Linked DNA regions of Homo sapiens: region 1 is linked to region 2. The links are contacts of gene promoters, found by promoter capture Hi-C in blood cells and fetal thymus (Javierre and others, 2016). All regions are on one chromosome and are shown on one strand. The core of a region is centred on a gene start or on the middle of the fragment in contact, and the rest is flanking DNA. Distances in the headings are between cores, read along the strand shown. Region 1 has its middle 110 kb from the start of CYYR1. Region 2 holds the start of APP (amyloid beta precursor protein).

Evidence for each region. The method cuts DNA at HindIII sites, captures the fragments that hold promoters and counts their contacts. A CHiCAGO score of 5 or more calls a contact.
Region 1: a contact is called between a fragment that was not itself captured here and the fragment with the promoter of APP in region 2, in 4 of 17 cell types (total B cells, fetal thymus, naive CD4 T cells and 1 more). The highest score is 9.2, in total B cells.

The regions. Positions count from the first base shown.
Region 1 is chr21:26,683,861-26,687,966 of GRCh38, reverse strand. No RefSeq gene overlaps it. Among named protein-coding and RNA genes, the nearest start is that of CYYR1, 110 kb to the right of the region's middle. The HindIII fragment of the contact is 1,423 bases long and covers 943-2,365 here.
Region 2 is chr21:26,168,784-26,173,097 of GRCh38, reverse strand. APP (amyloid beta precursor protein) reads left to right here and starts at 2,328. Exons shown (of 18, transcript NM_000484.4): 1 at 2,328-2,534. The coding sequence starts at 2,478. It overlaps APP-DT (APP divergent transcript), which reads right to left and starts at 2,231. Exons shown (of 4, transcript NR_186396.1): 1 at 2,046-2,231. RefSeq lists silencers at 1,976-2,805, 3,306-3,575 and enhancers at 2,593-3,117, 3,616-3,825. The HindIII fragment of the contact is 2,642 bases long and covers 1,843-4,314 here.

The DNA of each region.
Region 1 (4,106 bases), core at 405-2,904, 520 kb before region 2:
AAAAATATACATGTGTGCTGTCATAAGTTGGAGAAACAGATATCCTTTCTGATACTCCATGCTGTAGAACACTGTCAATTGACTAATTTCGGATGCAGAAATTCCCCACCCTACTTTAAACACAAATAATGCCTTAAAGATTTTATGTTGATTGGGTGCAGTGGCTCACGCCTGTAATCCCAGCTGTTTGGGAGGCTCAGGCAGGAGGATCACTTGAGTTCAGGAGTTCGGGGCCAACCTGGCTAACATGGTGAAACCCCCTCTCTACTAAAAATACAAAAATTATCCAGGCGTGATGGCATGTACCTATAATTCCAGCTGCTCGGCAGGGGTGCTGAGGTGAGAATCACTTGAACCGGGGAGGCAGAAGCTGCAATGAGCTGAGATCATGCCATTGCACTCCAGCCTGGGCAACAGGGCAAGACTCTGTCTCAAAAAAATAAATTAATTAATTAAATAAATACATAAATAAGATTTTATGTTAGCTAAATTTTGCTCACAAGCTAGGAAAAGTAGATTTATATCAAAGGACAATGAAATCATGTAGATAACAAAATTGGAAGTATGATAGAGTTAGTCTAAAGCAATTCACTAATAATAAAGGAATAAACAAACTGTATGATGTAAAAGTAGCTTCATATAGATTCCTACTTAGGCGTGACATAAAGAGGGAAATAAGATGATAGCTTCAAATATTTTTGGATCTTAAACATAATTCAATCTACTTCCCACAATGTTAATATTATTCCTCCAATGCTTAAACTCCCTTACCATTTACTCCTAATTAAACTTTTTCTTTTTTATTACTCTTCAACTGCTCACTCATTAATTACCACAATCTACTTCCATAACCATCTCTCAGGAGAACATTGGCATGAGCCCACCTGCTTTTTGCTACATTAGCATTGCTGATAATGCAACTTTCTGATATTTTCTGAAGCTTAGTATAAGACATTTCTTTAAGCTATGTTTGGAATTATCTTACCTTGGTCAATGTGGAAGGGAAACAAGGATTACATGAATTGTATGCTCTGAATTTGATAAGACAGCTAAAGTGGTGACGTCATACTGTGCACAGCCTATCTCGAAAGTATTTCAGTTCCTAGTATTAATTTTATCTTCAATCAAATTAAAGCCATTGATAGCACACATGAACATGCACGCGTGCGCAAACATGCACACACACAAACACACACCAAAAATGAGTATCTTTTATGAATGAAAAGGACGATGAAATACAAAGCCCTGCTTTATTAGGACCACTGAAGAGCAGATTCTACATCTACATTAAAGGACTTAAAGGATGCTTCACTTTTTCCATATTTAGAGTTTGTTTTTCAGGATTCAATATTATCTGCCCAATATCCATTTTTTTTCCTCCCTCATTGTAATCGTAGAATCCCTGGGGTCCCTCCTCACTCCTACTGCCCCATCTAGCAACTACAATTCCCAGCCTTCCTTGCATCTGGTTGTGGTCACGTGGCTAATGGGGCATGAGAGGAAGTGACATGTGCACCTGCGAATCACTTCTTTGGAAAGGAAGCTGCTTACTTTCACTTCACATTCTGAAGTCAGGAAGAAGTAACAATTTAGGAGCTACTTATACTCAGAGATGAAATCTAGAGCCTCCTACCTGCCCTAGATATTCTGCCCAACACTGGACCAAATATGCAAGAGAAATACATTTATATCTTATTTAAGCCACTATAGTTTTGCAGCTTAGCTAAACCTGCACCTTAAATAATAAATATATCAAGCAGCAAAGAAACCTGTTTAACTATTAATAACCTTATGCAACCAAAACTTACGATGATAGAAATATAAGTTCTACTAAAAAACTAGTGTTCCAACCGCAGTGATCTAAGAAATGAGGAAGGGATAAACTGTAGCTTAGAATTTGTATATTTTCAAATATAATATGCTAAGGTTATCATTCAATTGTGTTGTTTATTCTATCCAGATTTTTAAATGGGCATATTTGTATTATTGTTTTCCTTTTTTTGATCTATTTTAATTTAATTGATATTATATATAACATTATATATATCTTATAGATAACATATATATAATAGAGTAACATATGTCTGTTATAAAGCATAACAAGATAATGAACACTCATGAGGCTTTTATCCAAGCAGATAACTAGAACCTTACTAATAACTTGCATCTACTATGTTTGTCCAAGTTGGTTGAATTTGGAAAACACAGATTCATCCAATACTTCTTTCACCAACCCAGTGGTTCTTAAGATCCTAATTTTAGAAAACAAATCAAGAGCATATTAGTATCACTTGTAAATCACACATGGAAATTAACCATAATACAGAGTTTGAAGCTAGTTATGAACCTTTCAGCATTCTAAGCTTTGTATTTCTTATCTTTAAACACTGTATGAATTCCTCCATCATAGACCTACAGCAGATTTTATATGAGATATTGCAGGTGGAGGACCACTTCTTAGAGCCCTCCTTTAGTGGGCATGTAGTCGTTGACTGGAAAAGAAGAAAATTGGAAAGAAAGAGGGGGGATTGCTGATAGTGGAAAAGAGGTAAAGACTTCCCAGCACAGTCAAAGTAGAGGGAATGTTGAGTGAAATGACCAGGGCTTCCTCAGGCATTCTTGTCCGTGAGTGAGTGAGCAGCTGAGTGTTGGGTGAGGGGCTGGTAAAGACAGAATATACTATCCTGTCATCTTTTACTCTACTATAATAAAATGTGATTAACTATCCTGATGCATATGAAATGCTTAGAATAGTGCTGGATACATAGGCAGCCTTATGTACACGTTTGCTAAAGCTGCTATGCTTGGGCAAGAATGTAGAGAAGCTACTCTGTCATACATACACGTTATTCCTTTAGATAAGGGACATTAACATGTAAAGTTCTCTCTTCATGTATTTACATTGAGTCATTAGAATTTAAGCCACTGGAATGTACGTATAGTAATTTACATTCTAGTGACTCAGTTTAAATAAAGGGTGAATATTACTTATTATGTTTACCAAGTTTGGAGTTTGTTGATGTATCCTCAGTGCCTCTGTGATCATGTCTCACACATAGTAGATGCTCGATCATATTTACTGAATAAATTTCTAAGAAATCAAAATTTCCCAAAAATTTACCCTATTAAAATCATGCAAGTTGCTCTCTCTTCTGAAATGATAAATGTATCAGTAGGCAGGAAGACAGCAGATTGCTAAATAAATTATTGTGAATCAGAATCTGTTGAATTTGAATAATGATCCCCAAATCTTGTTGCTGAACAGAATTATCTGAAAGAAATTCATAAATACAAATTTCTGGGGCCAACATTGGAGTCTCAATCAGCAGATACATATTTTTGTTTGTCTGTTTTACTTAGTTGAAGTCAAATTTTATTTGCAATTTAGTAATCTGCCATATAAATCATACCATAAATGACTGTTAAAATACCAATTTCACAAGCATACTTTTTCATGAATAAATAATACTCCATTGAATGAATGTCATAAATTACATCACTTTTTATTTTCATTGAACACAGGTTGCTTACATTCTTCCCATCACAGTAATATGTTTAAAAGTATTTGTATTTAAATGTTTAAAAATGTTTGTGTATTTAAAGATGTATTTGTTGACAAGAGGTAAATAGAAATTTTTAACAGTATGTTGTTGCTGAGGTATTTTCACTTGTTTTTTTTTCCCCAAGGTTTTTTCCAGCTTTATCAATATGTACTTCCCCATTTGTAAACTATCCAAGCAACTTCTAAGACCTGGCAGCAACTCCCTGGCACAATATGATGCAAGGAACACTCCCAGAGGAGAGAATGAAGCAAGTCACCTAAGCCTCCTGGGGATACATTTCATAAAATATTAGATCATGTCTTAGAAAAAAGATCAAGGGTGGCCCAGATCTTTGCTTTCCCTCGAGTGGCTTACGAGCTACAACTTTACCTCTGACTTGTCTATATATACACCCAAAAAAAATTCTGTTCTGGTTTTGCTTTCAAAACGTCTCAGGTTTTCCATTATTTTCCAAAATATGCTGGTTACCCAAATGTAGGACCTCAACTTCCTACTTTGAGTACTGAGGGATAGAATTCCTTAAAACAGTCTTGATTGATCTCT
Region 2 (4,314 bases), core at 1,079-3,578:
AGCTGGGACTACAGGCGCCCGCCACGACGCCCGGCTAATTTTTTGTATTTTTAGTAGAGACGGGGTTTCACCGTGTTAGCCAGGATGGTGTTGATCTCCTGACCTCGTGATCCGCCCGCCTCAGCCTCCCAAAGAAAAGTCCCTCACTCTTAAAGTTGCCTCCTCCTTCCCAGGGCTGGCTTCATGGGCATGCAACCCTGGAGAGTCTCACAGGCCCTGCGGTGGGAGGAGCCCCATGCTTGGTTTAACGCTCTGCCATTGCCATCTTAAAATTCTTAATTTAATTTTTTTTCTTTTTTTTGAGGTGGAGTCTCGCTCTGTCGCCCAGGCTGGAGTGCAATGGCACAATCTTGGCTCACTGCAACCTCCGCCTCCCAGGTTCAAGCGATTCTCCTGCCTCAGCCTCTGGAGTAGCTGGGATTACAGGCAGGAGTAACCACGCTCGGCTAATTTTTGCATTTTTAGTAGAGATGGGGGTTTCACCATGTTGGCCAGGCTGGTCTAGAACTCCTGACCTCAGGTGATCTGCCCACCTGGGCCTCCTAAAGTGCTGGGATTACAGGCATGAGCCACCAGGCCCGGCCTTAAAATTCTTAATAATGTAACAAAGGGTCTCACGTTTGCATTTTGCAGTGGACTCTGCAAGATTTGTAGCTTTGGACCACGTTTCTCTTTGCATTCAGATACCTTCTTTTTTGCCTTATTTGCTCATGCAGACCCGGAACAAATACGGAATTGCGGTGGGTAAATGTGGTGCAGAAAGTGAACAACTGGGTTTGTCCTGTCACTTTAGGCTTTTCCCTGCTGTCCCAGCTTCATGTCACTTACTTGCTATTAGATTTGGGAGTTCATTAGCTTCATTTTCCTGATGTATAAATAGGAATAATAGTAACAGCCTCTTTGGCTTTTGTAGGAAGTAAATGACATGAAGCGTATAAACAAATACTGCATGACAATAAATATTTGTCCTTATTTGTTGAGGACATCCAAAGGACATTCAGGGGCAAAAGTAATCCAAGAGTCAAGACTGAATGCCTAGTGCGGGAAAAGACACACAAGACAACATTTAGGGGAGCTGGTACAGAAATGACTTCCCAGGAAGGAAGTCTGTACCCCGCTGGCTGAGCCATCCTTCCCGGGCCTAGGCACCCTTGTCAGCGCAATGAGCAAGGGAGAGAAGGCAGGCTGCAGTGCAGCCCTCAGAAGGGCCAGAGCACTCCCTGGCTTCAGTCCTTCGCTCCAAGCCCTGTGTGGAGTGGGCTGTGGCTTGGTAACTAAATGCTACTTCAGGTCAAGAGCAGGGGATATATCTGGGCAGTTCTAGAGCATTCTAAACTATCTGGACACTAACTGGACAGTGGACGGTTTGTGTTTAATCCAGGAGAAAGTGGCATGGCAGAAGGTTCATTTCTATAATTCAGGACAGACACAATGAAGAACAAGGGCAGCGTTTGAGGTCAGAAGTCCTCATTTACGGGGGTCGAATACGAATGATCTCTCCTAATTTTTCCTTCTTCCCCAACTCAGATGGATGTTACATCCCTGCTTAACAACAAAAAAAGACCCCCCGCCCCGCAAAATCCACACTGACCACCCCCTTTAACAAAACAAAACCAAAAACAAACAAAAATATAAGAAAGAAACAAAACCCAAGCCCAGAACCCTGCTTTCAAGAAGAAGTAAATGGGTTGGCCGCTTCTTTGCCAGGTCCTGCGCCTTGCTCCTTTGGTTCGTTCTAAAGATAGAAATTCCAGGTTGCTCGTGCCTGCTTTTGACGTTGGGGGTTAAAAAATGAGGTTTTGCTGTCTCAACAAGCAAAGAAAATCCTATTTCCTTTAAGCTTCACTCGTTCTCATTCTCTTCCAGAAACGCCTGCCCCACCTCTCCAAACCGAGAGAAAAAACGAAATGCGGATAAAAACGCACCCTAGCAGCAGTCCTTTATACGACACCCCCGGGAGGCCTGCGGGGTCGGATGATTCAAGCTCACGGGGACGAGCAGGAGCGCTCTCGACTTTTCTAGAGCCTCAGCGTCCTAGGACTCACCTTTCCCTGATCCTGCACCGTCCCTCTCCTGGCCCCAGACTCTCCCTCCCACTGTTCACGAAGCCCAGGTGGGCCGTCGGCCGGGGAGCGGAGGGGGCGCGTGGGGTGCAGGCGGCGCCAAGGGCGCGTGCACCTGTGGGCGCGGGGCGCGAGGGCCCCTCCCGGCGCGAGCGGGCGCAGTTCCCCGGCGGCGCCGCTAGGGGTCTCTCTCGGGTGCCGAGCGGGGTGGGCCGGATCAGCTGACTCGCCTGGCTCTGAGCCCCGCCGCCGCGCTCGGGCTCCGTCAGTTTCCTCGGCAGCGGTAGGCGAGAGCACGCGGAGGAGCGTGCGCGGGGGCCCCGGGAGACGGCGGCGGTGGCGGCGCGGGCAGAGCAAGGACGCGGCGGATCCCACTCGCACAGCAGCGCACTCGGTGCCCCGCGCAGGGTCGCGATGCTGCCCGGTTTGGCACTGCTCCTGCTGGCCGCCTGGACGGCTCGGGCGCTGGAGGTGGGTGCCGCGCCTCGGAAGGCGGGGGGAGGCTGCACGGTGGGGACGCGATACCCCCCAAGACCTTAACCCAAGTCTTTAATGCAGAGAAGCCGGGGGTCCGTCAATGGGACCCCTCTCCTCTCCGCCCCCGCTTGCGGACGTCCAGCGCATCCCCGCTTTCGGCCCAGCCCTGCCCCAGGGAGTCGCGCTCCGGCCCGCTGAGAGGGAGCGGGCGAGGCGCTGGTCTCCCTGGTTCCGCGCCAGCCCGGGGCGAGAAGGGTAGGGGGCGACCCTGAGCCCAGACCCCGACTTAGTCCCTGCCTTGGAAGCGGGGGTCGGGGGAGGCGAGAGACATTCAGACAGGGGGGAAGGGGGAAGGAGCACGTGGGGAAAACCGAAAACGCAGCGTCCCTAAAGCCAGTCCTTCGCTCTTGAATCGTTGCCCTTTCCTTTCTCTTGGGCCCTGGGGAGGAGGAGGAGGAGTCGGGACAGCCCAGGAAGCTAGGAGCCCCTCGCTTTTCCCTGCGTTCTCCGCCTCGTTTCACCTTCCTCTCTCACCCCCATCCCCCTTCCTTGCTCCAACCTCTTTTCGCGGCTGCTGGCGGCGGCAGCCTGGGTGCGACCCTAGCCCGAGCCGGCGTCGGGGTCGCGCACCGCCTTCCACAGGCAAACTTTGTGCATGTCCGCGTCTCCCTTTTGTGTAACTTGCGAGAAATGGGAGGGGTCGGAGACCCATAGCCACCCCGCGCCTTCCCCAAGTCTGGACGTCCCGGGAGTTCGCTCGCACCCTAAGCTCTGTCTGAGAGGCAGAAGGTCCGCGGGAACAAAAGCCGCGACACCCCGCCCTCGCCGTGGGCCGAGCCGCGTTAGTCTCAGTGCGCCACCGAGGCTCCCGCCCGGCTCCCTTCCCGGGGCTGCGCGTCCGCCTGGGAGGGGGCAGAGACGCTGCCGGGGCTTCTGGCGGAGCCTCGGGGCCCCTCTGCTTCCCACCCTCGGATCACCTCCGAGGCTTAATTCTGTGCTGGGCTGTAAAGTCCTTGGCGGGGAGGAAATAAGGCGGAGAGTGGGATGTGCGTCTGGAAAGGGCAGTGGCGGATGGTGGGGAGGCACGGGCTCTGTCCTGTGCATCCAAGGAGGCGTTTGTCTGATTAAGGCGCGGCCTCTTCCCTGGCAGCTCTGGGGACTCTGGTTTAGTTCCCCTGGGGGCACAGGATGCTGGGGAGGGTCCGAAGGGTCTTTTTTTTAGGGTGCAGATAAAAGGATCGAATTGAGTGAAGATTAAGACGGAGAAGATGGCGCCTCTGCAGTGCAGCAAAGAAAAGCTGTGTGGAGGCTGCAGCCTAGTGAAATCCACCCACCACTAGGTGTATAACAAGTCTTCCCCATTCATCCAACTCTCGAACATTCAGCTAACGCCTGTGCACAATGACTGTTTTTCTTTACATCTGAAGATGCTTAGAAGTTGTTTGCATGACAGTTGGGCCAGAGGAGGCTGTATTTCACTTCGGACTTCGGTTGGGTTCCTGTTTGGCATCTTAACATTTGCAACCTTCCTTACCCGTTTTTCCCCTCTTTTCCCCCAGCCTCCTAGTAATTTTCCAAAAGAAAAAAAGCAATTTCCGGGCAGATGTTTTCCTGTAATTCCACTGAGGCTGTACAGACTATCACACCATTAGTTTTTTAGTTTCTAATTTGCAAGGTCATTGAACTTTTTTCTCTTCTGATTTTTACCCACAAGTGGCTCAGGAATCACCTTAGGGCTAGTTAAGACAGGTTGTTTTAAGAGTTAAAGAATTTC